Regions from separate parts of the Homo sapiens genome. Here regions 2, 3, 4, 5, 6 and 7 are each linked to region 1. The links are contacts of gene promoters, found by promoter capture Hi-C in blood cells and fetal thymus (Javierre and others, 2016). All regions are on one chromosome and are shown on one strand. Each heading gives the region's core, a stretch centred on a gene start or on the middle of the fragment in contact. The rest is flanking DNA. Distances are from core to core; before and after follow the strand shown.

Evidence for each region. Contacts are between HindIII fragments. The CHiCAGO score rates a contact against its expected background, and 5 or more counts as called.
Region 2: a contact is called between a fragment that was not itself captured here and the fragment with the promoter of GTF2A1 in region 1, in 1 of 17 cell types (total CD8 T cells). The highest score is 6.3, in total CD8 T cells.
Region 3: a contact is called between a fragment that was not itself captured here and the fragment with the promoter of GTF2A1 in region 1, in 3 of 17 cell types (total CD8 T cells, fetal thymus and non-activated CD4 T cells). The highest score is 10.1, in total CD8 T cells.
Region 4: the fragment with the promoter of EXOC5 here is called in contact with the fragment with the promoter of GTF2A1 in region 1 in 9 of 17 cell types (naive CD4 T cells, naive CD8 T cells, total CD8 T cells and 6 more); the score reaches 30.6 in naive CD4 T cells.
Region 5: a contact is called between a fragment that was not itself captured here and the fragment with the promoter of GTF2A1 in region 1, in 1 of 17 cell types (total CD8 T cells). The highest score is 6.3, in total CD8 T cells.
Region 6: a fragment that was not itself captured here is called in contact with the fragment with the promoter of GTF2A1 in region 1 in 3 of 17 cell types (non-activated CD4 T cells, total B cells and total CD8 T cells); the score reaches 10.7 in non-activated CD4 T cells.
Region 7: a fragment that was not itself captured here is called in contact with the fragment with the promoter of GTF2A1 in region 1 in 2 of 17 cell types (non-activated CD4 T cells and naive CD4 T cells); the score reaches 11.0 in non-activated CD4 T cells.

Annotation. Positions count from the first base shown.
Region 1 is chr14:81,219,678-81,222,464 of GRCh38, reverse strand. It overlaps GTF2A1 (general transcription factor IIA subunit 1), which reads left to right and starts at 1,506. Exons shown (of 9, transcript NM_015859.4): 1 at 1,506-1,976. The coding sequence starts at 1,947. GTF2A1-AS1 (GTF2A1 antisense RNA 1) reads right to left here and starts at 1,247. Exons shown (of 2, transcript NR_135252.1): 1 at 940-1,247; 2 at 1-826. RefSeq lists silencers at 1,342-1,641, 1,672-1,721, 2,252-2,371 and enhancers at 2,712-2,787, 2,784-2,787. The HindIII fragment of the contact is 3,079 bases long and covers 513-2,787 here.
Region 2 is chr14:58,288,700-58,291,399 of GRCh38, reverse strand. All of the region lies in intron 2 of PSMA3-AS1 (PSMA3 antisense RNA 1), which reads left to right. It overlaps LINC00216 (long intergenic non-protein coding RNA 216), which reads right to left. Exons shown (of 1, transcript NR_146595.1): 1 at 2,247-2,700. Among named protein-coding and RNA genes, the nearest start is that of LINC00216, 2.0 kb to the right of the region's middle. The HindIII fragment of the contact is 1,019 bases long and covers 806-1,824 here.
Region 3 is chr14:58,245,084-58,247,822 of GRCh38, reverse strand. PSMA3 (proteasome 20S subunit alpha 3) reads right to left here. Exons shown (of 11, transcript NM_002788.4): 2 at 1-73. Among named protein-coding and RNA genes, the nearest start is that of PSMA3, 1.6 kb to the right of the region's middle. RefSeq lists enhancers at 2,507-2,739, 2,071-2,739. The HindIII fragment of the contact is 2,580 bases long and covers 102-2,681 here.
Region 4 is chr14:57,267,375-57,270,160 of GRCh38, reverse strand. EXOC5 (exocyst complex component 5) reads left to right here and starts at 1,256. Exons shown (of 18, transcript NM_006544.4): 1 at 1,256-1,539. The coding sequence starts at 1,513. AP5M1 (adaptor related protein complex 5 subunit mu 1) reads right to left here and starts at 1,190. Exons shown (of 8, transcript NM_018229.4): 1 at 773-1,190. The coding sequence starts at 846. RefSeq lists enhancers at 1,026-1,225, 873-1,456 and a silencer at 1,766-1,825. The HindIII fragment of the contact is 4,317 bases long and covers 1-2,786 here.
Region 5 is chr14:59,478,207-59,481,021 of GRCh38, reverse strand. L3HYPDH (trans-L-3-hydroxyproline dehydratase) reads left to right here. Exons shown (of 5, transcript NM_144581.2): 2 at 1,671-1,840. Among named protein-coding and RNA genes, the nearest start is that of L3HYPDH, 4.8 kb to the left of the region's middle. RefSeq lists an enhancer at 55-154. The HindIII fragment of the contact is 1,109 bases long and covers 886-1,994 here.
Region 6 is chr14:54,486,335-54,489,196 of GRCh38, reverse strand. It overlaps GMFB (glia maturation factor beta), which reads left to right and starts at 217. Exons shown (of 7, transcript NM_004124.3): 1 at 217-272. The coding sequence starts at 270. RefSeq lists a silencer at 135-534. The HindIII fragment of the contact is 1,280 bases long and covers 857-2,136 here.
Region 7 is chr14:45,089,341-45,092,146 of GRCh38, reverse strand. All of the region lies in intron 1 of PRPF39 (pre-mRNA processing factor 39), which reads right to left. Among named protein-coding and RNA genes, the nearest start is that of PRPF39, 6.6 kb to the right of the region's middle. The HindIII fragment of the contact is 2,933 bases long and covers 27-2,806 here.

The DNA of each region.
Region 1 (2,787 bases), core at 257-2,756:
AATGTTGATAGAATCATAACTTTATATAATATACCAAGAACACTGATTTCCTGTGATTTTTTTCTTTAAGTGTCCCAGACCATGCAGCTGTGCAGGAAACTGGGAAGCAACTGTTAACAGGGGAATGGACTTGGCGTGAAAAGAAATGTCAAGGTTCATAGATATCCTCTACACCCATTCACAATCTCCCATTTTCTGAGTATTCAAGGCCTCTGGTTTCTCTAATCCCTTTCTTCAAGTCTTGGCAAGATGCATTTTTTTTCCTCTTTGGTAAGACGCCTTTGATATTCTTCAAATCTGGTTTCACCAGCACAGAACTTTGACGTTTCGTTTTGCTTTGTCTCTGGAAGACAAACTCCCTCACTCATCCACGCGACATTTCAAGTCCCTCAAAATTCCCAGGGACAAGAAAACTAGGTACTATGAATTCTGCCTTCCAAACAGCATTCTCTGTTCTGCTTGCAAGGTCGATATAAAGGCAGGATTTGCTTGGGCAGAACAAGTCAAAAGCTTATTGAATTGCACTTATTGAATTGAACATGGAACACAGCCGGCTTGCTCTCTTATAGCGAGAGGCCATGCGAGTTGGTGGGTCAAGGGCATGCATTTCAAAGTGATCAGTCACTATACGTTGGCCACATGGAGTCGCAGTATTTTGGCAATATTTTTAAAAACCAGGGAAAGTTACTGTGCTGTTACAATCCAAAGGCTGGTGGGGTTTTCTTCCACCCCGCATTTCCACTAGCGTGATAAATTATTTAAAGTACGTGGCCTAGTAGAGGACTAACCTCTGGGTAACATAAGCCTAGTCTTCGCAGCGTACCCACTGTGGAAACAAACGAATCAGACGTTACTAATTGTGGAATGTTAAAAGTAGGCCCCGATCGGCTTTTACTCCCTTTGGAAAATCCTACACAATTCTGCGCGCGAAAGACCCACCCTCGGTGAGGCGGTGAGGCGCGAACGCCGCGAAGCTCACAGTCAAAGCCTCGCTGACAAATCAAGAGATGACTCCGCATTTAAAACCTTCCCGAATAGGAACGCGCCAGAGGCCGGAAGCCACGCCACGTGACCAGTCCTCCTCCGCGGCCATTCCTAGCGAGGCAGTAGGCACCGCCTCTGTCACATTTCCTAGCTCCTAAAGCGCGGGACCAGGCGGAAACGTGCGACAGGAGGCGGTCCCACCTAGCTTTGGACTGGAGTGTCAGTAGAACTCCCGTCTTTTCCAGCAACGCTTTGCAAGTTCTTCACCGCAAAGAACTGCCGCAGACTTCCGCCTGGGTGCCAACCACGTGATCACGCGAGCGTTGGAGAGGCGTAGGTCCGATTTCACTACTTCACTCCCCGGGCTCCGCCAGTCCAGTACCCGCCACGGCGCGTGACAACGCGGCTCGCCGGCGGCCTCCGCCCCGGCGCGCCTGCGCACGCGGCTCTCGCGGTGTCTCGCGCTCAGCCCCGCCCACCTCTGCCCCCGCCCTTTCCGCCCCTCCCTCCCCCTTCACCCTGTCTCTCGGCGGCGGCGGCGGCGGCGGTGGTGGCTCGCGCAGCTTGTTGGCTCGCTATATAAAGGAGAGAAGCGGGCGGACCGGACGGCTGGAGCTGCAGCCGGTGGCGGCAGCGGCGGCGCAGGGAGCGGTGACCGGTGGTGGTTTCCCTCCTTGGCGCGGGGTGGGGAGCGGGCAACGCCCCCCGGACCCCTGAAGGGTCGTGGCTTTTTTTTTTTTTTTAAGGCGATTCTCGAGGTTTTCAGCTGCGGGAGGAGTGCCCCCCTCCTCCTCCTCTCTCCGCTCTCCCCTACTCCTTCAGGATTGATTTTGTTTAAAATTTTTTCCCCAATCTTGCGGTGATTTGGGTCACCCTCCGGGTGTTATAGTTTTTTTTTTTTTGGTTTTGTTTTTATCTTGTTTTCTTGGGGTTGCCCCCTCTTGTTTGTGTTGTGTGTGGAAATGGCGAACTCGGCAAATACAAACACCGTGGTAAGGACGTGGTTCGGTGGCCGGCGGGGGCTTCGTTCAGGCTGCAGCAACGGCCGGACCGGGCGGGGGCGGGGACGGCGGCGACTCCCGGCCTCGACTCTTCAGCCGCCCGCGCGGCCGCCGCCGCCGCCGCTTCCCGCCTCGGGCGGATCGGGCCGGAGCGCCGGGCGGCGGGCGCGGGGGGGCGCCGAGGGCTCGCGGCGCGGGGAGGGCGGGGGCGCCGGTGGGGCCTGGGGCCGCCGCGGGCCGGGCCGGGCCGCGGAGGCGGTTGGGCCCGGTCGGGCGCGCAGCCCCGGCCCCAGAACCCGGCCGCCGGGAGGGAGGGCGGGAGGGGAGCCGCCGCTTCCCCCCGAGGGGCCCGTCCGCGCTGGCTTGACGAGGGCTCCCCGAGTGGCTACAGAACAAAAACTGTGTGTGGGGAATCGGGCGAACCCCCGAGACCCATCGTGATCCACTTTAATGCAGTGGAAGATTAATGGTTACTTTGGGGGTTTCTTAGGTTGTTTTTGGCGGCTGTGCTTTGGGAACCTTCTCTGAGGCCATTTTATGTTTAAAAAAAGGACGAAGGTTGGTTGAAAAGCACTTATCTCAGTTCCTTCCGAATGGGTAAAATGGCGAAGGGGAAGACCCCCATCGTATCTTCGCCTAGCAGAAGCACCAAAACAAACAAAAAAAGCCTGCAGTGGTCCAAGTGTCCCCGCTTTCGCCTTGAAATTTACCTACTTCTTCCCGTTGGTCCCTTTTTGTTACTTGCGATCACGTAGGTTTGCAAAAAGCAGTCACATAAATAACCTTTTCAGTCACCAACGCA
Region 2 (2,700 bases), core at 66-2,565, about 23 Mb after region 1:
GCCGGGCGTGGTAACACATACCTGTAACCCCAGCTACCTGGGAGGCTGAGGCAGGAGAATCACTTGAACCCGGGAGGCGGAGGTTACAGTGAGCTTAGATCGTGCCACTGCACTCTAGCCTGGGCAGCAAGAGTGAGACTCGTCTCAAAAAAAAAAAAAACATAGAATTTGTTCAACTGTGCAGTTGTTTCTGTACACGAGTATATATTGAGAAGTGGAAATGATTGCTGTGTTGAATGTAGCAGCTTTCCTAAAGATTTAGTTATTTTATGGAAAGTTACATAATTTACTTATTTGTAACCAAAGCAGACTTTGAAATTTCTATGTTGTCTTTTGCCCTATTCAATTTTTATTTATTTATTTATTTTTTGAGACGGAGTCTCGCTCTGTCCTCCAGGCAGGAGTGCAGTGGCATGATCTTGGCTCACCGCAACCTCTGCCTCCCAGGTTCAAGCGATTCTCCTGCCTCAGCCTCCTGGGTAGCTTGGGACTACAGGTGCATGCCACCACGCCCGGCTAATTTTTGTGCTTTTAGTAGAGATGGGTTTCACCATATTGGCCCGGCTGCTCTCGAACTCCTGACCTCGTGATTCACCCGCCTCGTCTCCCAAAGTGCTGGGATTACAGGGATGAGCCACTGCGCCCGGCACCGTGTCAGATTTATCTGCTGATTTTATGGCCACATGGAGTCATAGATAATGGTTCGTATAATTCAAACTGGAATGACAGCGTATTTTAGGATTCAGATTCAAGCAAATATGAGTTACATAATGGCTTTCCTACAAGGATCTGTGCTCCAGAAGCTTAAGGTCAATAAAAGGGAGAATGTAATTACACATGTGGAAAGTTAATCTAAGTAGTTATTTCAAAATATTTAAGCAATCTATATAACCTTATTTATAGACTTACATGGCTCCTGATAATAGATTTGTCAAAGTTCTGTATACAATCAGATCTAGTGGTTCTTTTAAAAGAGACAAATTGCTTTAGAAAGCAGAGCAGAAAGAAATTTATAATGGTTATTAAAGGCTTTTCAAGGATAGTGAGATATAATGTGTAAAATTAGAAGGAGAGAAGACATTCTAATTGGATGAAAGGTTGTGAGCAAGAATACAAGGAAATATGTATTTGGGACAGAGGGTAAACCAGGTCAGAAAGGATGATTGGCTGAAGATTAGGGAAAATTGTGTGGCCAACCTACCCCTGTTTCTAGGGTTAGCTGCACATCAGAGTCCAATGGGGTGTTACAGGGTTCTAGAGGGTCTTGGAAGATTGGGAGTAAGCAGAAATTGACCATTATTTTTGTCTTGTCTTATTTCAAGTTTTACAAATTATAATGGAACTAAACAAAATAAAATGCAGCCATGCATGGTGGCTCACACCTGTAATCCCAGCACTTTGGAAGGCCAAGGTGGGCAGATGGCTTGAGGCCAGGAGTTTGAGACCAGCCTGGCCAACATTGTGAAACCTCATTTCTACTAAAACTACGAAATTTAGCCTGGCGTGGTGGCACGTGACTGTAATCCTAGCTACTCGGGAGGCTGAGGCAGGAGAACCTGGGAGGTGGAGGTTGCAGTGAGCCAGGATTGGACCACTGCACTCCAGCCTGGGCAACAGAGTGAGACTGTCTCAAAAGAAAAAAGAAATCACTTTTAATGCCACTCTAAGAGATTTTTAAAATTTCCTTCCTCCTTGTTTGTATGTATTTTCTTTAGTCTTAGGGTAGTTTTTGGTTTTCTTTGCTCCTTTAACATTATAACAAGCATTCAGTGTAATGGACAGTCTCTATAATGATTTTAATGTCTGAAAATATTCCATCAAGCTTTTTTATCCTTTTCATTTTTCTATTGCATGACTGTAAGTTTCATAGTGCTTCAGTATTGTGCTTCAGGTATCTTCTGCATGCATACAGTATTTTCTCTTTTGGACTGTTCTTTTAGGAGTACATTTAAAGAGTCGTTGTATGAACATTTTTATGACTCCTGAAACATTGCTGTGTTGTTTTTCAAGCTGGTTATAATTTACACTATCACCCTCCCTGTGAGTTTAGCTAGTGGCATTAAATAGTCTATAATTTTCATTTTTACTAATTTAATAGGTGCAAAATACATTGAGCTCTTTTTTTCTTTATAGTGTTTTTGTTGTGAATTAGTGAAATGGGACCTTGTTCTGTGATTTCACTTACTGATTCTTTTACAGGTTGTCTATTCACATTTCTAATTATGTATTAGAATCTTGATGTTTTATTTCTTAATTGATTGAGTTTATTATAGTGGTAACTTGCTGCACATATTTTTCCATACAGATTTCCCTTTTAATTTTAGTTACTTTTGCTGAGAGTTTTTGAATAGGCACAGAAAGGCATGTCATAAACAAAATACAGTGTTGGAAAATTATTTAGAAACAATGCCCATTGTAACTGAAGAAATGACACAGGAATTGGAAGTAGGGAGACAAGATACTGTTGAAGTGGTATCAGCATGAGATGAAACTAGAGTAGGAACTGGAGAGAGAAAGGAATAGGTGAGCAAGGAATTGTTTTGGTGGGGGGAGGAAAACTTGACAGCATTTGATCTCTGATTATAGAGGTGAAGAAGAAAGAAAATGAAACATACTCAAGATTTAAGAAAGAGGGAACGAGCAGTACCATTCACTGATTTGGCAAGTCAAGAAAAGCCACTGGTTGGTAAAGATGATGAA
Region 3 (2,739 bases), core at 142-2,641, about 23 Mb after region 1:
CCACAGCCTTCATAGCATATTCAACTTGAAAAACTCTTCCGTCAGGAGAGAATGTAGAGGCTGACAGGTCATACTTAAGGAGAAAAGGGCAACAGTAAGCTTGTATCTTTGGCAGTAATGACCATACAGTTTCTTCCCCTCTAAATGGCTGAAACATCAGGAACCTGTTATATCCCAACAAAGACCTTGCTTTCAAGAGAGGAAAGGGAAACTTGTCAGAGCAGCAACAGTAGCTAAGATAAAGCTATATACCTTCGATTTCAGCTATTGAAGAGTAATGGATACAGGTCCCAGGTGAAGTCAGAACACTTTTCACCCAGACTACAAAACTCATTTTTGAAAAAGATTAATATGGGGCAGTAGAACCAGCACTGGAGTTCGAACATTTAAATTTGTAACGATAACTCTGCCATTAACAAACTAAAAGACTTCAAACAAATCATTCGGCATTCACCAAGCAGTTAATGAGTATCTATTATGTTACTATACGGAATACAAAGGTATACTCATTCATTAAGTCCTTCAGTTTCACATCAGACATGAATCTAGGTGCTAGAGGTACAGCAGTAAATCAGAAAAGGCACTAAGATGAAAATAAAAGAGTAAAGCAATGAACTACTACAGACTACATCATCAGGGAAGGCCTTCTGGGCAGTTATATTTAGGCTGAGTCAAACCTAAATGACAAGGAGCTAGCCATTTAAGATATGAAGGAAAAGTCTTCTTGACATTTGGCACAAAGATCTTAGGGTAGAAATAAGGCTAGCACAGTCAAGAAACAGAAATAAGGTCACTGTGTCCCAAGCACTGTAAGCAGCAGAAAGAAGAGTAAACTGTGTTAGTGAGGTAGCTGAGGGCCAGATTATGTTGTGTCTTCCAGGATGGAAAAAGGACTCTGTATTTTATTCTAAATGCAATGAGAAATTTAAGCAGGGGGAGTGGTATCATCTATATTTTTAAAAACATCATTCTGGCTTTATGCGGAAAATAAGCTGTAGAGAGAACAACAGAAGCAAAGATAAGGTGTTCCAAAGATAGCGGTAGTAGCTTAGACGAGAGAAGAGGTAGAAGGGAATATTTTTTGAGAGTAGAGTAAAATATAAAAATAATAAAAATAAACTTGCTAGGCCAGGCGTGATGGCTCATGCCTGTAATCCCAGCACTTTGGGAGGGTGAGGCGGGCTGATCACAAGGTCAAGAGATGGAGACCATCCTGGCCAACATGGTGAAACCTCATCTCTACGAAAAATACAAAAATTAGCTGGGCGTGGTGGTGCGCACCTGTAGTCCCAGCTCTTCGGGAGGCTGAGACAGGAGAATTGCTTGAACCTGGGAGGCACAGGTTGCAGTGAGCCAAGATCGTGCCACTGCACTCCAGCCTGGCAACAGAGCAAGACTCCGTCTCAAACAAAATAAAAATAAAAAAATAAACTTGCTAAAGCGTTGGTTCTGGGAGTAAAGTAAAAAAAGGAATTAAAGATGAATAACAGATTTTTTCATATGACCATTCACTGAGCTGAAGACTGTAGTAGATGCAAAATGGCAAGGTGAGGAGAAAACCCAGAGCTCTACTTTCACATGCAGTACGAAATGACTATTAAACGATCAAGTGAACAGACATGTCAAGCAGACAAACAAATATTCGTATCTGGAGTTCTTGGGAGAAATGAAGACAGAAGAAAAGCCTTCAGCAGTGGTACTTTCTGAGTCTGTTTCCTGATCTGTTAAACCCAGATCATTAACCCTACCATTGTTACTAAAATATCCCACATGGTTACATTATCAAGTATTCTTTAAAAGGTTTGTAGAATGAAATACTATTAATTCAAGGTAATATTAATATAATTGCAAAGTCAGTTTGCTACAAGATTTAATATTGAGCATTTACTTATCCAAGAAAAGTATGGCAGAACTTTAGCATTCATAACTGAATGGATTAAACCATTCCAGACATAAGTTGCCTATTATCAAATTTAGAACACCGGTACTTGAACTTAAGGCTGAGCATGAGAATCTTGTTAAGAAGTAGAAATTGAGGAACTGAGAAACTCATTATTCAATAACTCTAGTGCAAATAACCAATAAATCTTTTAGAAACTGTATTTTCTATATAGAGAAGTACATAAAAGGAGTAAACTGACTGCACATATGCAATACGTTTAACAAAGGAAAGCCAAACAAGTTAACAAGTCCCACTGCAAAATCCTCAACAGTCTATGAAAAGTCTGAAGCTGTTAAGTTCCTAAGTAACCATTTAAACGTTTACGGAATAAATGCCTACAAGCGCTGTTAGGTAATTTGTATAGGAAAAACGAGAAAGGAAAAACTGAAGGATTCATCAGATTGTTTTTCAGACCATTTTTATTAGTTCTGTTCCGACAGGATTTCCAGTGACTCTTAAACTGAGCGGTCAATGATCTGCACACTTAAAGACAGAGAAGGCCTGTGAATCAGCAGCACCCTAGGAACTGCAAACGCAGTCCACAAAAAGCACGATCTCCAGACCCCGGAATCCCAAATCTCACTGCCTCGGTGGTTCTCAAGAGAACACACTATTTCAAGCCCCACGAGTTTCCACTTTCGGTTTCCCTAAGTGGCTGAAGAAAGTGACTCAGCAATCCAAAGCGGCTCCAAACCTCACTGCGGCGACGCCAAGCCGGCTACACCTGCGCTGAAAAGCTTCAGGAGTCACGGTCACCTGAGACGCAGGCCTAGCATATAGGGGATAAAGACGACCGG
Region 4 (2,786 bases), core at 7-2,506, about 24 Mb after region 1:
AAACTGATGATTTCTACCATTGACACATATTAACAAGATAAAAATAAAAGCCTGGGCGGGGCGCGGTGGCTCCTGCCTGTAATCCCAGCACTTTGAGAGCCAAGGCGGGCGGATCACGAGGTCAGGAGATCAAGACTATCCTGGCTAACACGGTGAAACCCCCTCTCTACCAAAAATACAAAAAATTAGCCGGGCGTGGTGGCGGGTGCCTGTAGTCCCAGCTACTCGGGAGGCTGAGGCAGGAGAACGGCATGAACCCGGGAGGCGGAGCTTGCAGTGAGCGGAGATCGCACCACTGCACTCTAGCCTGGGGAACAGAGCGAGACTCCGTCTCAAAAAAATAAAAACAAAAAAATAAAAGTCTGATATAACTTAGCATGGATTTTTCAGTAGAATAAGTTAAAATGTTCTGGAACGATTTTGTCAATGCATGTTGAAAAATCTGAAAATGTTTAGTGCTCAGTAAATTTTCTACCGTTCCCTTAGTCATCTCCATTTTAATTCTAAGCAGACGGAGGTCATTTTAAAACACAATACTAATAGAAAACATATACCGTAAATAATATGTACCAGTCATCAACTCAATTCTCACAACACTGTAAGGTAGGACTATTAAAATCTCCATTTAACAGACGAAACAGAGGTCTGTTAACTGGCTAGCCCAAGGTCACGCAGCTATTCGTGGCAAACCTGGGCCACGAAGCACCACAAAACTATGCTACTTCATCGATCTTCTGATCCATCATCCCTGAGGATTCAGATTTGCATTTACCTGGAGAATCTCACGGTGCCACAAAGTGGAGTTCCCGGTTCGTGGCTTATGAGCCACACTGCCCGCTGCGCCATGGTTAAGTCAGTAAAGCATTAGCTCATCTCATAATTAAGGTCGCCACCGAGGAACAGCGCAGACCGGCTTTCTCAGACAGACTCTTAACAGAAGCCCTGAGGCTCATCCTGCGCCGCATACCGGTCGCGCTCAGCAGAGAGGTTAGCTTTTTTAGGTGAAGTCACTAACGCTTCTGAGTCGCTCTAGGCCAACACACACCACAAAAAGTTCTAAGAACCCCAACCTATAACCTTGAGAAATTTACCTATACCCTGCAACTCCGGTATTTTCTTCCTCTAAATTCTACTTCCGGAATGGTGGCCCGCAAGGATCAAAGTTCCTCATACACGGTAGCGTCGAGCCTTTTTTCGGTTCTTTCGCCGCTCGTTTTATTCGCCGGCCCCTCCCGACAACCTCCCTGGCGCGCGCAGTTCCACTTCCGGCGTATGAGGCGGTGACAATGGGAGCAGCGCGGGCGGCGCCGGGAGGCAGCTGACAAGCGTTTGCGGCTTCGCTTCATGGCCGCTCTCCCGCCCCTCCTGGGATCTGTGGGGAGCTGGGGAGCCCGCAGCGGCCCGGAGCCGGAGCTGGCGAGCCGAGCGGAGACCTGTGCGCCGCGCCTCTGAGGCGCAGCATGTGAAGCGGAGACGGCATCCAGTGGGGGGCGAGCCTCTCAGCCGGCCGGGATGGCTACCACGGCCGAGCTCTTCGAGGTGGGCCCCGGCGGCTCTACAGGGAGTGGCAGGCCCGGGGTTTGCAGGCAGCTGGGTGGGCGGGCCGAGGAGCGGGCGTTTGCTGGCTGCCCAGGAGGAGCCCTCGGGAGAGAGGTGCGAAACAGAAGGGTTGGGGTGGCAGCTCCGTGTCAGCGCGGGCGGAGCGTGAAATGGGGGAGGGGTGCTTGGGGCCGAGGTGGGCTGGGCGGCCGGTCGGCAGAGAGGGGAAGCCGGGTGTCCCAAGGGAGGAGGGTTGCTTTTGTTTGTGGGGGCAAGAGGGAAAGTCTGGAAGGTTCGGGTGTTGGAAGATGTCTACTCCGGATGAGTAGTGGGAAGGGCTGACTCAGGACGAGGAAAGAGAGCCAGGAGCCTCAGGTTGGGCGAGTCTTGTCGCTGGGGTCCTCGCGGGAATAATAGGAGGAAGCCACTTGAGATCGGGACTCTTGGGGGCTTCTCGTTTTGAGTAATTATTCCATTAGTAAGGTTGCAGGTGGCATTCATAGGACTGCCAGTTTAACCTGACATTTGAAAAGGCTGGGACAATTTTTTTTTTTTTGGACAATAAAGGCCTACTTATCTCTTTCGACTGAAGAGAGATAGACTGAAGGGAGGCAAAATTCAAGTGAACACTTTATTTCATGTAATACATAATAATACACTCGAGGCATTTACGTGTATTATAAAATAAAAAAAGTTTATAAAATAAAACGAACACTTCGTTTCATGTATATAATGCACCTTAAGTGTATTATATGCATTTACATGTATTATAAAATCACCTAACTGCAAGCTAGAGAATCCTTAATATGTAATAGTGAGAATACTAATGTCTTTCCTCGAGCGTTTACAGTATCTAAACCTTAAAATTTAATTTCGTGAAGTCCGTTGTAAGAAGCTGTGATAAAAGTTTGAGATAATAGAATAGGAAAACTCTAATTAGGCTACAAAACAATGACACGTATAAAGCATCTCCTTGTGTGAAAGAAATGAAAACGGATAAGAAAAAGGAAAGAAAGACCCCTTTTTTGTGTGTGTGCTTGTGTTTCACATTGAGTAACAAAAGTGTAATAATTGAGAAGACTGTAATCCACAATAGGGAACTTCTCCATAAGTGAAAATGGTATCCTTTTTCTGCGTAAGATTCAGCAGTTTTTGTGGCTTACAATTTGAATGCCACAGTTTTAATAACAAATGGAAATTTACATTTGTTATTGTTACTATATTTTGCATATCAGTCAGCTTTTGGA
Region 5 (2,815 bases), core at 191-2,690, about 22 Mb after region 1:
TCCTGGTCCCGGGATTGGTGGCCAATGCCCCATTTAGTTGTTACAATCAAGGGAAGAGGGCAGGCCGACTGAACCCTGGGACCGTCACCTGTGTCTCCTGGTAAGTGCTGATCTTCACCCTCACTTTAGCTTTCCACCTTCCAGCAGTCCCTCATTTCTATCAACTTGCCCATTCTCTTTTCATTAAACTTGCTTTTCATGTTGCGCCAGCATCAAGATAAAGACATTTTTTATTCAGTTTTGTTGTTACAATCCACAGCATGTTTTACTCTTTTGATTATAAACTTGCTCTGTTTTAACACATCATGGGTTAAAAGGGCTTCTGTGGACTAGTGTGGACTAATAGCATACTGATAGCCTTCTGTGGACTGATAGCATACTGATATCTTTGTATGACCTTGTATGAAAACTCAGGAACACAAGATATATTTTCTTTCCCAAAACTTAATTTCTGAAGCTGAAACTCTACTCTGTCCTTTTGGTTCACTTAGCCTCATCACTCCATGTGTTGTCCCCTTTCCTGATATGTGTGAGCAAAGGTTTCTTAAAAGTGCTGTGGCCTTGGAGAGGATGGCACTTCAGTCCTCAGCTTACACAGTTAACCAGCAAAGTGGAGCAGGAGCATTGGCTGCCCCACCCTACCTGGTCCTTGCCCTCTGCACTGCCTCCCCATCCTCTGTTTCTTCACTCCTGCTCCTGTGGTGCCCTGGGGGAAGTTAACACACGTCCTCTCTGCACTAAGGACCTTCAGCCTCCACTCTTCTCAAGGGAGAAAAAATTTATCTCTAGGAGAAATATTTCTCCCTTCAGGACACTCCTTTGCCAACAGATGTCTTTCCCCTGAGAGCTTAGGCTTCCCTAAAATAAAAACATGAAAGACAAGCTTTCTCCCCTGCCATAGGCTTCCCTAAAAGGCAGTGATCACCAAGCTAGCTTAAATTAGGGAAGAGGAAAATTTGAGAAGGGGCGAAATAAACATCACCCAGCCCCCTTTCTTTGGAAATACAGATTCAAGATTTCAAACTACTGACCTTCAGGTGAAACTTTGGGGATGTTGAGACTTAAAATGCTCAAATAAAAACCCTGGTGCAAAATGATGCTGTAGCAGTCAATGATTCTACAATGGCATTTTTCTGTGTTTGCCTGCAGGATACCTTAAGGAGATGAAAACATGTAGATAAGTGTATATAATTTATATAGAAAAATCTTTTATTAAAATTTATGTTTTGACATTACGGCTGAAGAAAATTGATTTGTAAATAGGATCCAAGACCCTCACTATTTTAAACCATCTCTCATAGTACAAGTGGGGAATAGACATTTTCCTTCTTAGTGTTCACAGGGATGCCCTTGGGTTTCCCTCTCTCGGCCTCAGGGGTGTTTCCTAGAAAAGATCCTCAGGGAAGTTAATGAATATGTCTGTATGAGTTAGGGAAAGCATGGCTTTAGTTTATAACTTCTGCAATCATCAAGTTAAAAATAGAATGATGCATCTAGCTATTATTCACTCGATGCTTATTCATTTAAAAAACGGATTTTTACTTCATTATTTTTATGATAGGAAAAGAACATCCCTCTTGAAAAATAAACATATTAAAAATCCTTTGAATTTTATTGCTAAAATACTTATTAACAAACACATCTTCTTTCCAAACACATCTTTTTTTTAGATCTCATGGTGGATGTTCCTGGACATGGAAAGGTGATGGTGGACATTGCATATGGCGGTGCATTTTATGCATTTGTTACTGCTGAAAAGTTAGGACTAGACATTTGTTCTGCAAAGACCAGGGACCTTGTGGATGCAGCGAGTGCAGTGACAGAGGCAGTGAAAGCTCAGGTCAGTAATACTCTGCCTTCATAACCAATTCCCTTCTCTGTGGCATGGAGGAAATATACATTATTATGTCTATAAAGAAAATTAAATGATGTTTAAATTATTAATAGTACTAAGAATAGGGTACTTATTAAAATCTTAGGCTCTAGAGCAAGCTTGTCCCACCCGTGGCCTGTGAGCCACATGCAGCCCAGGATGGCTTTGAATGTGGCCCAACACAAATTTTGTAAACTTTCTTAAAACATTATGAGTTTTTTTGCAATTTTTTTTTAGCTCATCAGCTCTCGTTAGTGTTAGTGTATCTTATGTGTGGCCCAAGACAATTCTTCTCCCAGTGTGGCCCAGAGAAGCCAAAAGATTGGACATTCCTGCTCTAGAGCAAAACTATCTATGAGTTCTAGCTTTACCACTGGTAACGTATATAACCTTGGGCAAGTTACGTAACCTCCATATGCCTCAGTTTTCCTGTCTGCAAAATGGAAATTAAAAAATACCTGCTTTGTAGGGTTGTGAGAATGAAATAAGTCAATACATGTAAAGGACTTAGAGTAGTGTCTGGCCAATAGTAAATGTTCAGTAAATGATAATATTATTTTTTTTGAGACAGGGTCTTGCTCTGTCACCCAGGCTGTAGTGCAGTGGTGTGATCATAGCTTACTGTAACTTCAAATTCCCAGGCTCAAAATGATGCTTCTGCCTCAGCCTCCAGAGTAACTGGGACCACAGGCATGCCCCATCACACCCAGCTAAATCTGTGTTTGTGTGAGTGTGTGTGTGTGTTTATATAGAGACAGGATGTCACTATGTTGCCCAGGATGGCCTCAAACTCCTGGCCTCAAGTGATTCTCCCAGCTCGGCCTCCCAAAGTGTTGGGATTACAGGTGTGAGCCACCACACCTAGCAGTTACTAAATTTAATAATACATACATACTAATATAGTTTATAGTTCCTTAAATGTGTAGAAATATATTTATAGAA
Region 6 (2,862 bases), core at 247-2,746, about 27 Mb after region 1:
ACTTGCAGCCAGGCAGAGCGTCCTCCTCTAGAGGGAGCAGGGAAAAGAAAAAAAAAAAAAAAAAAAAAAAAAAAAAAATCAGGCGATCGCATTCTGTCTAATTTTGAGCCGCGCCTTTTGCCGTCCGCCATCACGTGCCGGCCCGCTGAGGCCGCGTTGATAGGTGGGGGCGACTGGGCCAGGCGCCGGGGCAGGAAGGGAGGCGGCCGCCGTGCCATTCTTAAAGGCGCCCGAGTGTAGGCGACAGGCCGCTGACGGCCGGAAGGAAAATGGTGAGTTGCCGCTGGGAGGGCGGGGGCCGGAGGGCTGGGCGAGCCGGCCAGCCGGGTTTTCCCGGTTTCCGGAGCCGGCGGCGGCGGGCAGCGCCCAGGAGGGCTCGGCGGCCGCTTCCGCTCCCAGCAGCTGGCCAGTGCCCATAGCTAGAGTACTTGGCCTCTGCCGCCGCCACCACGCCTCAGGGCAGCATCTTCCAGCTGGGCCCGGGGTGGACCCGCCCAGCGGGCCATGGGACTAGGGTGCGGCCACGAGCAGGGGGGTTGGGGAGGCCCCACGCCAGGTCCTTCTGGTTGGAGGGCTTCAGCTTCTGAGCTGTAGGTTGGAGGGAAAGGGGTCTGCCCCATCGGAGGGCTCCCTCAATTCCTGCTTTCCCTGCCAGGGCCGTGGCCAGGTTCCAGGGGTTGGTGGGCCCCGAGCATCTTCCACCTGGCGGCGTTTTGGGGGAGGACTCGAATTCCGATTGAATTCTCTCGGCCTCACCTTAGCTTCTTTCTCTCTGCTCCTTTCCCTAGCTTCCTACAGAGGATTTCTCCTTATCTTTGCTTTCCTATGGCAGTTGGAAACCTTTCGACCCAAAGCTTTGGCACTGGGCCTTAAAGTAATTGTCAATAACTTTAGTTTTGTTGGTTCTGGGGGCTGTGGCTTCTGTTCTTACATGGGATGGACCCCAAGCATAAAAATAAAGTGGAAAATTAAATAAATCGCCATCAAGGATCTTTTGGATCCATCCCATTAGGTTTTAAAATATGGGTAAATTTCATTAGAAACAACAAAACACTGCTCTCTGTGACCATCCACTCAATTCTCAGCCCACTTTCATCGAATAGATCTTGTCATGGTCACTGAATCGAATGGATTCTTTTCAGTTTTCGTCTTCTCTGACCTTTTAGCTGCATTCCAGAGTGTTATACTCTCTTGTTTTTGAAGCATTCTCTTCCTTCATTCTTCCCCTTTGGCTTCTGGGATACAGAGCTCCTCCTACTTCTCCTATTGGTCCATCTGTTTCCCTTTCAGACTATTCTCCTTTCCCTGGACAATGCTCGAAGGAGTCCCAGGTTTCATCCTAATCCTTCATTTTCCATTCTGTATTCTTCATCCTAAACTATGGCTTCAGTTACCATCTATATTCAGATGACTTGTGAATTTACAGCTCAGAAGACCTTGCTTCTGAGATCCAATCCAGATCTGTATGTACTTTTTTTTCTTTGAGTCGGAGTTTCACTCTTGTGGCCCAGGCTGGAGTGCAATGGCGGGATCTCGGCCCATTGCAACCTCCGCCTCCCAGGTTCAAGCAGTTCTCCTGCCTCAGCCTCCCAAGTAGCTGGGATTACAGGCATGTGCCACCACGCCCGGCTAATTTTGTTTTTTTGTTTGTTTGTTTTGAGATGGAGTCTCGCTCTGTCGCGTTGGTTGGAGTGCAGTGGCGCGATCTCCGCTCACTGCAAGCTCCGCCTCCCTGGTTCACGCCGTTCGTTCTCCCGCCTCAGCCTCCCGAGTAGCTGGGACTACAGGCTCCCGCCACCACACCCGGCTAATTTTGTTTTTGTATTTTTAGTACAGACGGGGTTTCACCGTGTTAGCCAGGATGGTCTCGATCTCCTGACCTCGTGATCCACCTGCCTCGGCCTCCCAAAGTGCTGGGATTACAGGCGTGAGCCACCGCGCCCGGCCCTAATTTTGTATTTTTAGTAGAGACGGGGTTTCACCATGTTAGCCAGGATGGTCTCGATCTCCTGACCTCAAGTGATCCACCTGCCCCGGCCTCCCAAAGTGTTGAGATTACAGACGTGAGCTACCGCGCCTGACCCCAGATCTATATATTAATATTTCAATATTTAGTTACCATTCCCCTGGGAAGCTTTTCCTCCACTTGGTCTCCTCAAAGCCACCTCAGTTTGTCCAAAGTAGAACTCATGCCCTTTCTCCTCAAACCTAGTCTTCTGTCTGTTATACAAGACAATCTGTTATACCAGCCAGAAGCCTAGTATATCTGGTAACCCTTTTTTTTGCTTACTCACACCCCACCCCCACCCCCAATATCCAATCTGTCACCACCTCCTTTGTAGTGGTTAAGAGAGTGAGTTAAGATAGGCTGCCTGGGTTGAATCCTGGCTCCACTAGCTATGTAATTGGGGAAAGATACTTAACCTCTCTAAACCTTAGTTTCTTGCAAAATGGGAGTAATAATAGTATCTGTTTCGTGAGATTGTTTTGAACATAAAAGGAAATCTATGTAAAGGATATAACAGTGTTTCTCTCATAGGGTCTGATACATGTTAACTATTATTAGGACTAAATGGGAATTTTTTGCTATTGAGTTGTTTGAGATCCTTGTATATTCTGATTATTAATCCTTTGTTGAGTGGAGAATTTGCAGATATTTTCTCCCATTCTGTAGGTTGTCTCTTCACTCGTTGTTTTCTTTCCTCTCAGAAGCTTTTTAGCTTGATATGATCTCATTTGTCTATTTTGCTTTAGTTGTCTGTGCTTTTGAGGTCTTACTCAAAAAAATCTTTGCCCAGACCAATGTCCTGAAGCAATTGCCCAGTGTTTTCTTCTAGTGGTTGTATAGTTTCAGATCTTACA
Region 7 (2,806 bases), core at 244-2,743, about 36 Mb after region 1:
ATCAGCTGCAGAGCTCTGAGAAAGCTTCTGCTTTTTTGATAAAAAGGGACAATCACAACTAGTGTGGTCCTTCCTTCTACCAATTTATTCTTACCTTGGATTTGACCATATCTGAAACGATTCATGTCCATGAAGTAGTCTATAAGGGATTGGCCAAGAAAATTAAGAAATACCAACCTTGACATCATCAAGCTCTAACAAAATGCCACCTTCCTATTGTGTAAGGAAATAAATTCCTATTTGTTTAAACTACTATCAATATACAAGTTTTCTATTACTTTGAGACAAAATGAATTCCTAACCAATTAAGTCATCAACAGTGCATGAGACTGTCCATTGCTTTATATCCCCGGCAACAATAGCTATCATTTGCTCATCTAATTTTTTTTTAACAAAGTAGCACCTCATTTTGATTTTCATTTCCTTAACTATGAGTAAGTAAAATTTTTATTTCTTTTTTTCATAAATGCCTTTTCACATCTTTTGCCCATATTTTCTGTTCATTACTAATTTTTTTCTTATTGGTTTGTATACACTCTTCGTAAACTAAGAAAGCCAGATCTCTGCAAAATTGTAAAATATTATTATAAGTTTGTCATATTAGTTTTGCATTCGGGGTCATGTGTCTATGTGTGACCCTTTAAAATTGTCACACGGATACAAAACCCAGATTCTAAAACATTTCCATCATTTCAAAATGTAGCATGGCCAGGAAAGGTGGCTCACACCTATATCCCAACACTTCGGGAAGCCAAGGTGGGTGGATCGCTTGAAGCCAGATGTTCCAGACCAGCCTGGGGAACAAAGTGAGATTCCATCACTACAAAAAAATCTAAAAATTAGCTGGGCACAGTGGTGTGTGCCTATAGTCCTAGCTACTGAGGAGGCTGGGGTGGGAGAATCACTTGATCATCCAGTAGTTCAAGGCTGCAGTGAACTACGATCACACTACTGCACTCCAGCCTGGGAGACAGAGCAAGATTCTATTAAAAACAAGGAAAAAAGAAAAAGAAAGAACAAATAGTATGAAACCATTTTTTTCCTAAGCCTGGGAGACAGAGCAAGATTCTATTAAAAACAAGGAAAAAGAAAAAGAAAGAACAAATAGTATGAAACTATTTTTTTCCTAAGAAAGAATAAATTTTAAATGTTAAAAGACCTTCTGAGTCTGAATGCCATTGAAAGAATTAGCTATAACCAGGTAAATCTAGGGAATACACAAAAATTTGAAAGGAAAAAATGGGACATGTGGGGATGGGGGAAGGGGACAAAAAATTTTCAATGCCTGATGGATGTCCAGCACTGTATTACATTCCTCGTAGTGACATATAAGTGTAAGATAAGGTCCTTACTCACTAATGTCTATTAACCAGGTAGAGAAAGAGCTAACACACAACACATACACACACACACAAACACATACACACACACATTTGGAGATAAGCTCTCAAATGAAACAAAGTGAAAGATTATTGAAAAAATCATTTGAAAACAATAGCAATCTATAGATGAAAACATGAAATATAATTAACTTTGAAAAATTATGGAATAATAGAAAAAGAATGGTAAACTATTCTAGAATGTGGAACAACCCATTAAACAACTCTCCTTGACAGCAGACAAGAAGGTAGAAATGATGACTGAAAAGATAAGAGAGACACAGAATGACCAGAATGAAGAGGTTGGTATTGAGAAGTAGAAGGGTAAAAGCAAAGTAGCATGGAGCCATATTATGGACAAAAGAATTTGAGAAAAAATTACAGAAAAAGCAAATCTAGCCAATGCATAATAAAAGAGAGTCCAAAGTAGTAGACTACCAGAAAAAATAAGTTCCCTTCTAGTTCAATGTATGATTAATGTCATCAACTTTTCCAAGTTTAATCACTTCAGGCCCTAGGAAAAGGCAAAGTAACTTGTAAATTTATTTTGTTCTTTTTCCCTCTTCCTTTAAAGAAAAAGATACGTTTGAAGATTAATTTTCCAAATGCAAATTAGTCACTAGTTTGTGGTTTTGTATTTCAGAGCTCAGTCTAAAAACAAAATACAAAAAAGACTGTAGGCTGATACATTCTGAGTCATTAACTAGCTACCCTATTCTAATTTCACACTTAGGTGAGACATAAGGGTTTCTTCTGGAATCAGCAAATTTACCACACCCCTGCATCTTCAGAGCCTGTCAATTACTCCACACCCTGCAATCACAGTGTTGTAAAAAGATTTAAGAACATCAACCTTATGCTTATAGAGATCATTTTGATGATTACTTCACAAATCACAGAGTCAAAAGAATACACTAAAGTTATTTTTTAATGAGTTACTCCAACATATTATTTATATGTCAATTATTATCAGTTTATTCTTAACAACAACCAATAATTTTCAACTAGCAACATAAAATGGGAAAGGGTACAGAATAGCTATCAAAAGAAAGAAATAAAACGGGCCAGGCATAGTGGCTCCTGTCTGTAATCTCAGCACTTTGGGAGGCCAAGTAGGCCGATCACCCATGAGTTCCAGACCAGCCCAGGCAACATAGCAAAAACCATTCTCTACAAAAAAATACAAAAATTAGCCGGAGGCTGAAGTGGGAGTCAAGGCTGCAGTGAGTCGTGATCGTGCCACTGCACTCCAGCCTGGGTGACAGAGCCAGACCCTGCCTCAAAAAAAAGAAAGAAATCAAGTGTGATACTGACATAAAAACAGTCAAATAGGCCAATGAAATAAAGAACACAGAAATAAACTCCCTTCTCAAATGGCCCTCAACAAAGTGCTAAGACTGCTCATTGAGGAAGGGATCGTCTCTTCA